Regions from separate parts of the Homo sapiens genome. Here regions 1 and 2 are each linked to region 3. Evidence: promoter capture Hi-C in 16 types of primary human blood cells and fetal thymus (Javierre and others, 2016). All regions are on one chromosome and are shown on one strand. Each heading gives the region's core, a stretch centred on a gene start or on the middle of the fragment in contact. The rest is flanking DNA. Distances are from core to core; before and after follow the strand shown. Region 1 overlaps ITGB1-DT (ITGB1 divergent transcript). Region 2 holds the start of ITGB1 (integrin subunit beta 1). Region 3 holds the start of EPC1 (enhancer of polycomb 1).

Region 1 (4,322 bases), core at 25-2,524, 640 kb after region 3:
TGAGTCCGGGGAGTATAATTCATTCCAGGCCAGTGAGGTGGATGAGAGTGGAGAGGCTTCTGGAAAAGCTTTCCTCTATCTTTAAAAGCAGGAAACAAAGTCATGCTTCCATTAAATGTTAGGAAAAGCTTCCCTCTATCTTTAAAAGCAGGAAACAAAGTCATGCTTCCATTAAATGTTAGACTCTACATGTGATAAAGCCACCATGCAGCCAGGCCTGAGGCTGAGCTGACAGGCCTGGGAATGTGGAAAAATGCAAAGGCCCCAGCTGATTGATCTGCTGATCTGTTGACTTATTAGCCTTGGAGGCTGCAGGTCAGTGACCAAGAGCCAGTTCAACAAACACCCACCCACTGCAAATCAGTTTCCACTACGGCTGATTTGCTGGATTTACTCGCTTCTTTTAACTATTTAGATATTGTTGACTGATTTTCATTTTGTCTTCATAAAAGCATTTAAGGAATATTAAAATTGTCTCAATTCTAGTTCCTTGTTGAGTAACTGAAGACTGACTTTTGATGAGTTGTCCAGCTAAATAACTCATCTTATTTCCAAACTTATTATGTGAGCTAATTTTTTCTTATAGTTTAAACCAATTGCATATTGAGTCCAGGTTTTCTCTTAATTACCACTAGAAGTATACTAATGGGATACATGTAGAATAAGAGAGAGAGAGAAATTGGGGGGAGGGGAGAGAGAGAAAGAATGAATTATTTCTGGGTTGTAGGATTGGGAATATAGCTGATTTATGCCTTTACTGTATATTCATCTTTGTATTTCTCTATTTTCTAAATTTTCTGTAATGAACATATATTGCTATTATGAACAAAGTGGAAAGTTGTTTGTTTTGAGACAGAGTCTTGCTCTGTTGCCCAGGCTGGAGTGCTGTTGCTCAACCTGGACTCACTGCAACCTCCACCTCCCTGGTTCAAGTGATTCTCATGCCTTAGCCTCCTGAGTAGCTGGGATTACGTGCGTGCCACCACACCCAGCTAATTTTTGTATTTTTAAGTAGAGACAGGATTTTGCCATGTTGCCCAGGCTGGTCTCAAACTCCTGGCCTCAAGGGATTCGTCCTCCTCAGCTTCCCAAAGTGCTGGGATTACAGGCGTGAGCCACGGTACCCAGCCCTGAAAGTTGTTCTTAAAAACTGGTTTGAGGGCTATAAAAGGTATGAGTGCTAATCTCAGAGGATTGTAGAATCATTGAGAATTGACATCTAGAGCTTAATAAAGTGGTGGCTGGGCTGGTGAGGCTACACAAACAAGGAGCAATTGAATCAATTCTAGAAGACTGAGTATGCGTAGGATGAGTAGGAAGAGGTGAGGCTTAGGACCTCTCGATCCATTGTTTGTGTTTGGTAGGGGAGGACTGAAAGGCCATATTTACAATATTTAGGCCAGGCTTGGTGGCTCATGCCTGTAATCCCACCACTTTGGGAGGCCAAGGTGGGCAGATCACGAGGTCAGGAGTTCGGGACCAGCCTGACCAACATGGCAAATCCCCGTATCCACTAAAATATAAAAAATTAGCCAGGCGTGGTGGCGGATGCCTGTAATCCCAGCTACTCGGGAGGCTGAGGCAGGAGAATTGCTTGAACATGGGAGGCGGAGGTTGCAGTGAGCCAAGATCGCACCATTGCACTCCAGCCTGGGCAATGAGAGCAAGACTGTATCACAAAAAAAAAAAAAAAAAAGCCACAATATTTATTGTCTCTTCCATGCATGATGCTTTACAAATACGTCATCTCCTTTCATCATCACAATTGTGAAAGTAGGTAGTATTATCTTCATTTTGTAGAGGTAAGAAGTGAAGCTCAAACGTGCACAGAAGTAATAAATATTGGACCTGTGATTTTAATGTACAGCTGGCATTAAATGTCGTGTGCAACACCTCTCACAGATGAGCTTACTGGAAGTGAAAATCAGAACATCAGAGCCAAAGAAAGGATTCTGACAAAAAGCTGTTGTGATTGTAAGTGACAGGAACCCAACTCGAAGTACTTAAGCAAAAATGGAAATTTATTGCCTTAGGTAGCTAGAAAGGAATGGAGTGAAACCAGCAAAAGGCTTGACTGTGCCTCGGGTGAAGGAAGGTGTAGACTGTACAAGAGGTATTGAAGCATCTTTTTCCACCTTAGGAGACAGCTTCCCAAGGCTGGAAAGAGGGGAGTGCGGAACATGCCTCCACCATACCACTGCCCACCTCCTGTGACCTCTGCAGCAAAACCTGAAGCCCCAAAGAGGCAGCTTCTCAAAGTAAAAGTGGAATGAAGGTCAGGTTGGTCTAAAAACCCATCCAACAATTTGTGGAAAGGGTTTACATCATTTTGTTATTTGTATGTCATTGCTTTTTGCATCATATTGTTTGTCCTTACAAAACAAATCTGGACACAGCAAGTTGTTCATTCGCAGAGAAAGAAAGCTTACTCACACTTCCTGTCATCCAGCAGCAAAGAATACTGACCACAGAGTGACCTTTAAGTGTAAGGCTTTAATGAGTATTAGGCTGAATGCCTGTTTTCCAACCTGGTGCAAAATATTTATATTTTAGAAATTGTGATTTTTAACATTACTGCAAGAAAGAGGGGCTTCTATTTCCTTTTTCCTCTATTTAGTCCCTAGATTAAGAATTGGCAATTTTTTTCTACAAAGGACCAAATTGTAAATATCTTTGACTTTGCAAACCATGTGATCTCTGTTGCAACTGCTCAACTGCCTTTGTCTTGCAAAAGCAGCTGTGGATGATATGTATGCAAATAAACATGGCTGTGTTCCAATAAAACTTTATTTTCAAAAACGGGAAGTCAGCCAGATTTTGTTCGCAGGTCTTGGTTTGCCCTAGATCACTGTTTTTTCCCCCCGAGTTTAAAATCATCATTTTTTTGTTGGTTTTAAACCCATGCCAGAGCAAGAGAACTTCACAATTTTCTATGGGTATACTGTGTTTTAGTTATTTGGATGATTGTCCAAAGAATCAGTCCACAATAGGAATTATTGTTACCTGTTTTGTGTTTCCGTTGGTTCCAGAGAGGAATAATCTTATCAAGTCATGTAGGTTAAAAAATTAAAATTAGTAAAACTATAGCAATAGAAAAATAAATTTAATGTTTTTAAACCTTGCATTTAAAAGGTAAATTTGGCGGGGGGCGGTGACTCACACCTGTAATCCCAGCATTTTGGGAGGCTGAGGCTGCTGGATCGCTTGAGCCCAGGAGTTCACGACCAGCCTGCACAACATGGCAATACCCCATCTCTACAAAAAAATACAAAAATTAGCTGAGCATGGTGGCGCACACCTGTAACTACCTTGAGGGGCTGAGGTGGGAGGACCCCTTGAGCCTGGGAAGTCAAGGCTGCAGTGAGCCGAGATGGTGCCACTGTACTCCAGCCTGGGTGGTAGGGTGAGACCTTGTCTCAAAAATAAATAAATAAATAAAATAAACGGTAAATTTGATTAAGAAAAAGAAAGATGCAAAGTGAACTGTGAGTAGATGGAGGGATCATAAATTTGGGGGACCAATAAATATTTTCCTCACTGTGGTGGGGAAATTGATAGGTGAAATAATAGAGTAGCTGTTATTTTAAGTCTGTAGGAATTTTTGCCCAATGACAAATGTGGAATTCAAAACCCGTTTATAGGTTGTGCCTGACTAGTTTTCTTTTTCTTTTCTGATTAATAACAATGTATTATTATATGTTTAAAAAATCTGGACTTACATAGCATCTTAATAATTGCTCATATACAGCATTAAATGCACAGCTGTCTTATTTAAACTTAAAAAGAAACTCCATTTTGGTGATAGCTATTATCATCTCTTATAGCATGACCAAAAAGCATCCTCAGAAATATAAGCCTACCTCACATGTACATGGTAACCTTGGAAATTAGGGTGTGTCGGCATTATTATTCTTACTTTCAGATATAAAACAGCATGGAGACTGATTTTTCCCAGGTCATATGTCTAGTGACCTGCAGATTTTTGGACCCCAAGTCCACATTCTTATACTACACCACAGTTACCAAATTGCCTTTGTTGACATGTAGACTTTTCAATTTGCAATTGCTTTACACATTTAAAAAAATTGTGAATAAAAGAACAAACTATTTCAGTTTTCAGTTGCAACTTACAGAACAATTAAATCATAACAAAAACATAGTATGTGTTTTGGGTGTATCACTTAAATGAGTAGAATAAAGGGATAGAAATCAATATGTATGTGGACTTGTTCTTCTTTTCTTTTTCTTTCTTTTTTTTTTTTTTTTAAATTTGAGATAGGGTCTTGCTCTGTCACCCAGGCTGGAGTGTAGTGGTGCCATCA
Region 2 (4,304 bases), core at 1,681-4,180, 610 kb after region 3:
TTACCAGTTACAAGATGTTTCAGCTTATCACACTAGCAGCATAGTTAAGGGCAAACCAGAGCAGCTACAGAATATTAATGAATATGTTTTCAGACAGAACACTATACTACTCACCGCTGTAAGCCATAACTTACTTATCAAGAAGCCAAACAATAAAAGCATTACAATCAGTGGCAAGCACGCTTAGGAAAACTGGCACCATGTTAAGTTGTTTGACCACTTTTCATTATTATAATATGACCAGATGTCCCCAGTGTCACTCCCAGAGTTAGGAAGAACACCAATGTAGAGCTACATTTTCATTCGTGATGGTAATTCGGGGCTGATTTAAATTAAATTATACTGACCAGAAAGCTGCCTAATTGTTAAAATTACTAAATCCAGTGACTTTCAGAATTGCTGATTCCATGCTTCTCATGTGCAGAATGTTGAGGGTATTAAAAAATAACTTTAATATAGAACTTTACATTAAGAAAATCACAAACACTTAAAATTGTAGGTTTAGGTCTGAAGTCAACACAGACGAGTTAAACAATCTATTTGCTTCCTGTTTACAGAATTAAAGTATTAACCACATTCTTTGTCCTTTTAACTAGCATTCTAATAACATCTTCCACCTTCATACTCAATTTTGGGATAAGTAAAATGACTTTCTCCCCAAATGCCTGTAATGAAAATACCAATGTTTTTTATTTAACACTTCACCATCTTCAGTCACTTATATAATATTGATCAATGAGTCAACATTATTTAAAAATATGAGAATTATAGTGAGACTCTAAGTCCTAACCCCTCTGGGCCTTGATGTCCACAAATGAACAGGTAACTGCCAACTGAAGTTCCTTAATCATTTCTAAAATTGGTCTACTGTATAACCTATCGTAAAGGACGTATGTGGTTTAAGAAAGGTGTCTAATCTAAATTCCTCTAGCATGTTATTTTTGTAGCATTAAAACTACAATTAAAAAAAAAAAAATAAAAAAACCTAAGGGCCAGGTTCAGGGGCTCACGCCTGTAATCCCAGCACTTTGGGAGCTCGGTGAGAGAGGACAGCTTGAGCCCAGGAGTTTGAGGCCAGCCTGGGCAGCATAGTGAAATCCTGTCTCTACAAAAAATAAAAAAATTAGCCGGGCACGGTGGCAGGCGCCTGTAGTCCCAGCTACTCAAGAGGCTGAGGTGGAAAAGTAACTTAAGCCTCGGAGGTTGAGGCTGCAGTGAGCTGTGATGGCTCTTCTGCACTCCAGCCTGGGCAACAGAGACCCTGTCTCAAAACAAAACGAAATAACCTAGTAATTCTACCCACCTAAGTTAACCATGTGGCATGTTGGCCCAAAGAAACCTTACCAATGATGTTACCAATTATCTTCCGAGATATTTTTAACATCTTTTTACTATAAAAGAAGGGCTGAAAAGGAGTCAATACTCATTGAGCATCTACTCTCAAGCTAAGTTTTTTACATTTTGCATTTGATTTTCAGAACTATAGTTAGGAAGGTTACTTGTGGTTTAAACGCGGACTCTGGAACTAGACCCCATGCCTTCTCCAGGAGCTCCTGATGACCACAGGCAACTTACTTTTGCTCCCTGTGCCTCAGTTTCTTCACTCGGAAAATGGGAATCGAAACAGTACCAATCTCATTAGAGCGGTTCCAGAATTAAATAATACATGTAAAATGCCTAGAGCTAAACTTGGCCCTCACTGTCATTATTATAAAAATGAATTATTAATGTAGATATTACTGTTCCTATTTCACAGATGAGGAAACGGAAGCTTAGAGAATGCAACTTACTAATGATCATACCAATGAGTGCAAAGTTTTGGACTCAAAAGCACGAATTTGATTAAATAAAAGTTACTTAGAGAGTAGGAGTCTCATAAATCCAATTTATGAAGCCTAAGAAATGACACGCGGTAAAATGATACTAGACACAGGCCGGGCTCTCAGGCTCGCGGACCGGGTCTGAGCACAAGCTGGCCATGGCCATGCGTCCTGGTCCCGGGGTGCCCGGCAGGGACCGGCGACTCTTGACGTTTATAAACACGGGGAAGTGGACTGCACTGCCGCCACCGCACCCCCGGTCCCCAGCGGCTCCACTAAGCCAACTTCTACCCGGCTCCCGCCGCCCCCGCCCGCGGCGCTGGCCCCAGGGCCGCCTCCTGGCAGCCGGAGGAGACCAGTCCCCGTCGCGGGCGCCGACGGCTGGCTCGACGCTGCTCCAAGGACAGCAGCTCGCGAGGGAGCGAGAGACAAAGGCACCGGACCCGTCCAGGGGAGCGCCGAGTCCCAAACGCCGAGCCCCGGGTGGCCTCGCTGGCTCCCACCTGCGCTTGCCCAGCCCGGCGGGAGACCGCAGGTGTCAGGGGCCGTTCGGGCCCGGTCCCCCGCAGCTCCGGCAGCCCCGACGTGACAGCGCCCAGGCCGGCGACCCTCACGTTCGGAACGCGGCTGGGCTGGCTCTGCGCCCGGGGGCTGCCAGCGCCGGGGACCCGAGGCGGGTGGCGGCGTGCGGACTTCCTCCTGGACTAGCCTGGAATCCTGCCCCAGCCCCCAACCGCTGGCGGCCGCCCCCGCCCCCGCCCCCGCCCCCACCCCCACGCCCGGCACAAAGGTCCCGGCGCGGCCCGGCCGGCGGCTTTAAGTGCTGCCGCGCACAGGAGACCGGAGGCCGCGGCCCGCGCTCCCACACCCGAGGCCCGCCGGCCCCTACCTTTTCCGCGCGGCGTCCGGGGCCCGGCGCGGTGGGCTCGGGCCTGCTGTTCCGCGACTCCCGCTGGGCCTCTCCCGCGGGCTGGCGGGGCCTCCCGGGTGTCGGGCGCGGCGGGTGGCGGCGGCTCCTCCTCCTCAGGGGCGGGAGGAGGGGACTCGGCGGCCCAGAGCCGCCCCCCGGCAGGAAACCAGCCGCGGCCCCGCCTCCTCTGCGCGTCTGATCCCGCTCCCGAGGCCGCCGCCGCCCTCTCCCTCCGGAAACGCATTCCTCTCCCGCCGCGTCAGCCCGGCCCGGGGCTAGGAGGAGGCGGAGGATGGGGCAGGAAGTGCGACCGGGACAAAGGAACCGGCTGCGCGGGAGCGCGCCTGAGGGAGGCCGCGGGGGGCAGGGCCGGGACTGCGTTGAGACAGTCGCCGTGCCTCAGTTTCCTCCTCTGCGAAGGGCGGGAGGAGTCGGACGCGCCCTAGAGCCCCGCGCGTTCCTGGTGTAGCCTGCTGGGCCCGTGTTCTTTAAGTTCCTCTTCCTCGGAGCCGCGCGTTCGACCCTCGCTCCCGTTTGTCCACTGATGTCCCGTTTCGAGCCCGGGAGATCCTGCATCTCGGAAGCCCCCTGAGTCCCGAGGCAAATCGGGACCGTGAGCCCCCCTACCCTGCAGGGCTCCATGGGGCCAAAAACCACGTGGTCCTTCTGGAAGGGAACTGGCTAAGCCAGGACTGCTTTTCTGGAGTGATAATGTGCTTGCCTGTGTCTAAGAGAAAGGTGAAGAATTGGGAAACCCATGGGTGTCACGAAGGGTGGTGAGACTGGGGAACGTTTTAGAAAACCTGGTGAGTTGCGTCCTGCTTTTGATAGATTTATCTGGAGGTACCTTTATGGGGAACAGGGATGAGAAGGAAAAGTTTCTTCCTAAGGAGTACAGTTTCTGTTTCACCTCTTAAAAAAAAAAAATTTGGAGATTGGGGCTGGAAACAACGTTTGAAAGAGAAGGAAACATTCATTATGAGAATGGCTGAACGCATGTCGATTCGATGATTGAAGTCTGTACCAGCCAAAATCATACTGAAACCCAGTAATTTAGTATATGCTACTGGCAAGCTGCTATCCTGGTAGCAGAAAATGCTGTGGGTTCCGCTTGGTGAGCTGCAGCACCCTGTTGGGAAAAGAGCTCAAAAATTACCAGATTTATGAAATAGAAGTGTTTCTCTTGCAGGAGATTAGGGACTGGAATGCCCATTTGGCTGCTGCCAATCAATATAAGAGAAAATGAAGCGATCACATCTAAGAAAATTTGCTCATTACTTACCAGCAAAATCAAAACTTGATTAGCCAATCTGAAGACCTCTAGGAAATGAGCACTATTTTTCCCACTTAATGGATGTTCAAGCTTAAGAGGCTAAATGATGTTCCTATATTAATATCTCAATGGTCAAACTGCCATTAGAACTCAACATTCTTGAATTTTAAAGGTATCGGTTTTACCATTGTTCAGAATTCATCAGAATTGGCCCAGTCTCAGCACAGAAAACTGTATAGTTCAAAAGCATAATTGGTCCGTGCCTGATTTGCACTACAATTTCCAGAATTTTTTTCCCTGT
Region 3 (4,320 bases), core at 1,682-4,181:
GATTTACACACCCTACCACTAACAGCATGAACCACAGGACTGTAAAGCAGCTTGTTTACCAGGTACTTTTTACATTCTTCCATTAGGTTCAGTGTCTATTCTTGAGGTCTATGCTTCTCTCCTCATACATAGCTTTGGTTGGATGTGAAGTGAAAAATTCTAAACAGATATTTGGAAAAGGCAATCTGAAGAAAAAAAAAAATCCCTGTGTTTCAAAATTAGGGACTCCACATGTTACAAACTATTGATAGCCACTGCAGTATAAAATGTCAAAATTGGCCGGGCGCGGTGGCTCATGCCTGTAATCCCAGCACTTTGGGAGGTCGAGGCGGGCGGATCACCTGAGGTCAGGAGTTCAAAACCAGTCTGGCCAACATGGCAAAACCCCGTCTCTGTTAAAAGTATAAAAATCGGCCGGGCGCGGTGGCAAGCGCCTATAATCCCAGCTACTGGGGAGGCTGAGGAAGGAGAATCACTTGAACTCGGGAGGCGGAGGGTTGTAGTGAGCCGAGATGCTGCCACTGCACTCCAGCCTGGGCAACAGAGTGAGACTCCATCTCAGAAAAGAAAAGAAGAAAAATCTAAATTATTTCAGCGAATAAAAATTACCCGTAAAATTTAACAAGCACTGATACTTCATTGAGCTCAGCTCTGACTTCAGGTTGTAACTCTTGGGACTGTCCAAAGTATTCACAGAAGCAAGACTTAACTAAAGTCTAAAGTGTACTGTTGTGCTGTCTTGCTTTAATCAAGGCTTTCCCCTTCCTTGGCTGCTGAACAAGAATTACAAATTAATTTCCAGGGCAGGGTAAAACCAACACCCCAATACTTGAAAGTATTATCTGTAAAACTTAGAAATAAAAATAAAACCAAAAGACAAGATTCTGCAGTCACAAGTACTTTAATTTTTAAAAACAAATCACTTATTAAAAAATAAACAAATGGCCATGCTACTCTAAAGTTGATACAAGTAAAATAAATTAAGAGGTAGTGTCTCATGAGACAATGTGCTGAAAGTCAGTGCCCAACTAGACAATCTGAGCTACTACATACACTTGGCTTATCTGTAAAGTTAGATTTAAGACACTACTCTCAAAAGTAACATTTCACTGTCACAGCTATTTCACTTTAAAAGGTTAAACAACCCAAAGAGTTTAAACAGTTTTATTTCCAAAAACAACATTACAGAGCATAATTTCTACATTAAAAATTCTTACAGTACCAAGAGAAGTATTACAGTACAATTTTCCACAACAAAATTGTAGCACACAAATCCACGCGACTCCTGGACTTCCTTGAACTGTCAATACACTGCACCCTGTTTAAATGGCTGTACCTGAAAACCAAGGTATGCAATTCCTTAGGATTAGAAGTCATCAAGTTATACTGTCAAGGATCTGGGGGAAATGAGAGGAAGATTCTATTATCCTGGTGTCCGAACCCAACTTCCACAACAAGGTAAAGCCACAGCGATGGTAAAATGTCTATTAGTTGTCAACATTTACGTGCTGAAACCCACCCAATTTAGACATCTCAATATTAAGATTTCTGTGAATCAAGTCACTTAGTTTTAGTTCGGTTTTGAATAAGAAAGGATCCTCCTTCGAAATTTAGATCTATAAAAGTTACTTAAATTGGGTCTTTTCTCCCCCTATGTTGAGATACCAGAGAGCAGGAGAACTTAAATTTATTTTACAAATAGGTAAGGTTACAGGCTTCAGAAGAGAGAGGTACTCCAAACAAATCTGCAAGATATTCGCAAGGATCACAGAAAAAGTCAGGGATAGTGGTTTATTATCCTCCGACCAACTAGCTCTGGAGAGGGATGGATACAAACGTCCCAGAAAGAGGACACTGAAAGTAAGTCTTATCTTCTAGAAAAGTAAGTCGTCCGGGCAAACACGCTGCACCCTCGACATTTCCTTGCAGAGGGGGAGAAAAGCCTCATAGAGCAGCAGGCGACATGACATGCCCGTCTGAGGCTCCACGTGGGGGCTGCACTGAGCCCAACAAGCTTCCCAGACCATGGGGCAATCAAATTCCCCGACTGTGCACAGAACCTGCGCTCCCGGCCCGGGCAGCGGCGCGCAGGCCGCAGTGGCCCTGGAGCGCCACCCAGCGGCCCACGGAGAGGCCTGTAGGCGGGTCCTCCACGGCTCCCGACTCGCCGCACCCCCACAGCCACCCAGCCCGTTCCCCTCTCCGGATGCACAAGGCCCAACCCAAGAACTAAGACACAAAATGGCTGCCGGCAGCTTCGTCACGTGACCCCTTTGTGCCTTTCGGGCCCCCGAACTCCGCGGGACCCGGGTACAAGTGGCCAGGGTCAGCGGGTGGCCTTAGAAGGGGCCCCGCTGGGCCGCGGCGGCCGGGGGTCGAGGCTGGGGGAGGCGGGGTATAGGCCCGGCCGGCGACTGAGAGTCGGCGGCGAAGAGAAGATGGCGGCCATTTTGTGTGGGTTTGCTGCTCCGCCGCCGCCGCAGGCAGCAGAGGGAGCGGGCCTGACGGTGGGTCGGACAGGGGAGTTAACACGTACCGACTCCTCTTCCTTCTCCATTCCGGTGGGCATCTGCGGCACGGCCCTGTTTATCGAGGCGTATTCGTGCAGGTCGGGCAGATCCTCACAGCGGAAAACCGGCAGCGGCTTCGAGGCGTCTAGCGCCCGCGCCCGAAACGACAGTTTACTCATCTCAGGCGCAGCAGATACCTCTCCGCTCTGGGGAAACGGCCCCGGCCAGCGGGATCATGGAGAACCGGGGGTTCGGTCCCCACTCGCCAACCGCTGCCGGGGACTTGAGGGGCGGAGCGCAGAGCCCGCCGTCCGGGCACTAACACCAGCCGGGAGGGTGGGAGGCTGTGCCGCTCCGCTCCTCTCTCGCTCGCTCTCTTCAATACGCCATGGCCAACATGGCGGACATTAAAACTCCACTGTGCGCTCTTCAGCCAACCCCAGCCATTCCCCACACTGCATCGCGCAGCGGCGCGGGCACGCGGGCGGGGGGAGGGAGCGCGGGCTCGAGGCCGGCGCCGGCACGAAGCGCGCGTCCCGCCAACCCCCGGCACCCGCCGGCCTCGCTTCCCGCGCCTCGCTGCTCCGGGCCCCCGCCCTTCGCGGGTCCGGGGGCGGACAGGGCGGACTGGGCGCTCGGACACCGGGCGCCGGCTCTTGGGTCGTGCTCTCCTGCAGCGCACACGCTCACTTTCTCACGCTCGCTCCCTCCCGGCGCCGCTTTCTGACGGGCGAACAAGGTGCGGGAAAACTCTCTCCACCAGCACGCCGCCGTTTGGAAAGGCAGCTGGGGAGAGTGGCAGGCGGGGCTCGGGCCCCGGGCACCTGGGGCTCGGAGGGCTCGGACCTCTGGGGTGCTCGCCAGCGGCTGCCCCGGGGCCACGGCCGCCCCCACGGGGCTTCGGAGGGGCGCTCCAGAGGCGCCGCGCGCCGCCGTCTGCCGCGGGGGGCGAACGCACAGCCTAGTTCCCGCGGCGCCTTAGGTCTTTACGATAAAAATACAAACTGAATTAGGGGCAGATGCTACTTTGAGTAAACTTTTATCAGCAGTTATTTTTATGTCCTAATGCAACTTTGGATTATAATGTTTTATAGGCACCGCATCAAGTCATTGATCCGTTTCCCACGCATTGGGCTTAATATAAATGATAGGTATCCTATTCTACAAAGTAGATTTTTTTAAATCCTGCATTTTCATCTACACATATTTACTTTTTAAATAGTAACTGAAGCAAAGGAAATTATTACCCACCACTATAACATTTAAAAGCAAGATCTACTTCAGAATTTAAAGCCAGTTCTTTATATCTAGCTCATGATTCTGTACTCAAAGAGACTGCGGCTTCATCATAGCCGTGGGTTCACACTTTCATCATTTGTCCTCTGAAAAACTTTGTAACATTGAATCATATAAAGACCTGTCGTACTCCCGCCAAACAAAAAGCTGAATTATTAGATTTAGATGGATATGATAGATGGGTGGCATCGGTTTATATTACACATGAAAATGGGTATCCTGAGATCTCTTCGTTGTTGTTGTTGTTAATAGGGAAGATTGTTGGGGTGGGTTTAATAAATTGGCAGCCAAATTTCAATTCGAGTTTCAATTTGTATCTTAGTGCACAATTTTGTATCTTGTGCAACAAGATACAAAAAGATACAAAAATGTTTTGAGTTGCTTTTCTCCCTGGGAACTACGTAGTAAAAGTAATCACGCTCCTTAAATACTGGGCTTGATATGAGCTGTCACTAGCTTAGGGCACACAGGCAAACTGCTAGCCTCCAGGCTGGTTTAGCCAGCTCCCGCGGGG

The links. The method cuts DNA at HindIII sites, captures the fragments that hold promoters and counts their contacts. A CHiCAGO score of 5 or more calls a contact.
Region 1: a fragment that was not itself captured here is called in contact with the fragment with the promoter of EPC1 in region 3 in 1 of 17 cell types (M0 macrophages); the score reaches 5.1 in M0 macrophages.
Region 2: a fragment that was not itself captured here is called in contact with the fragment with the promoter of EPC1 in region 3 in 2 of 17 cell types (activated CD4 T cells and naive CD4 T cells); the score reaches 5.4 in activated CD4 T cells.

What each region holds. Positions count from the first base shown.
Region 1 is chr10:32,983,483-32,987,804 of GRCh38, forward strand. ITGB1-DT (ITGB1 divergent transcript) reads left to right here. Exons shown (of 3, transcript NR_184020.1): 2 at 2,141-2,275. Among named protein-coding and RNA genes, the nearest start is that of ITGB1-DT, 3.1 kb to the left of the region's middle. The HindIII fragment of the contact is 2,296 bases long and covers 127-2,422 here.
Region 2 is chr10:32,955,436-32,959,739 of GRCh38, forward strand. ITGB1 (integrin subunit beta 1) reads right to left here and starts at 2,795. Exons shown (of 16, transcript NM_002211.4): 1 at 2,710-2,795. RefSeq lists silencers at 1,493-1,654, 2,048-2,497, 2,568-3,147 and an enhancer at 3,318-3,367. The HindIII fragment of the contact is 2,322 bases long and covers 1,770-4,091 here.
Region 3 is chr10:32,344,227-32,348,546 of GRCh38, forward strand. It overlaps EPC1 (enhancer of polycomb 1), which reads right to left and starts at 2,932. Exons shown (of 14, transcript NM_001272004.3): 1 at 2,537-2,932. The coding sequence starts at 2,689. It overlaps EPC1-AS1 (EPC1 antisense RNA 1), which reads left to right and starts at 3,138. Exons shown (of 2, transcript NR_104163.1): 1 at 3,138-3,249. RefSeq lists silencers at 1,963-2,242, 2,913-3,382, 3,393-3,522 and enhancers at 2,463-2,562, 2,583-2,642. The HindIII fragment of the contact is 3,163 bases long and covers 2,013-4,320 here.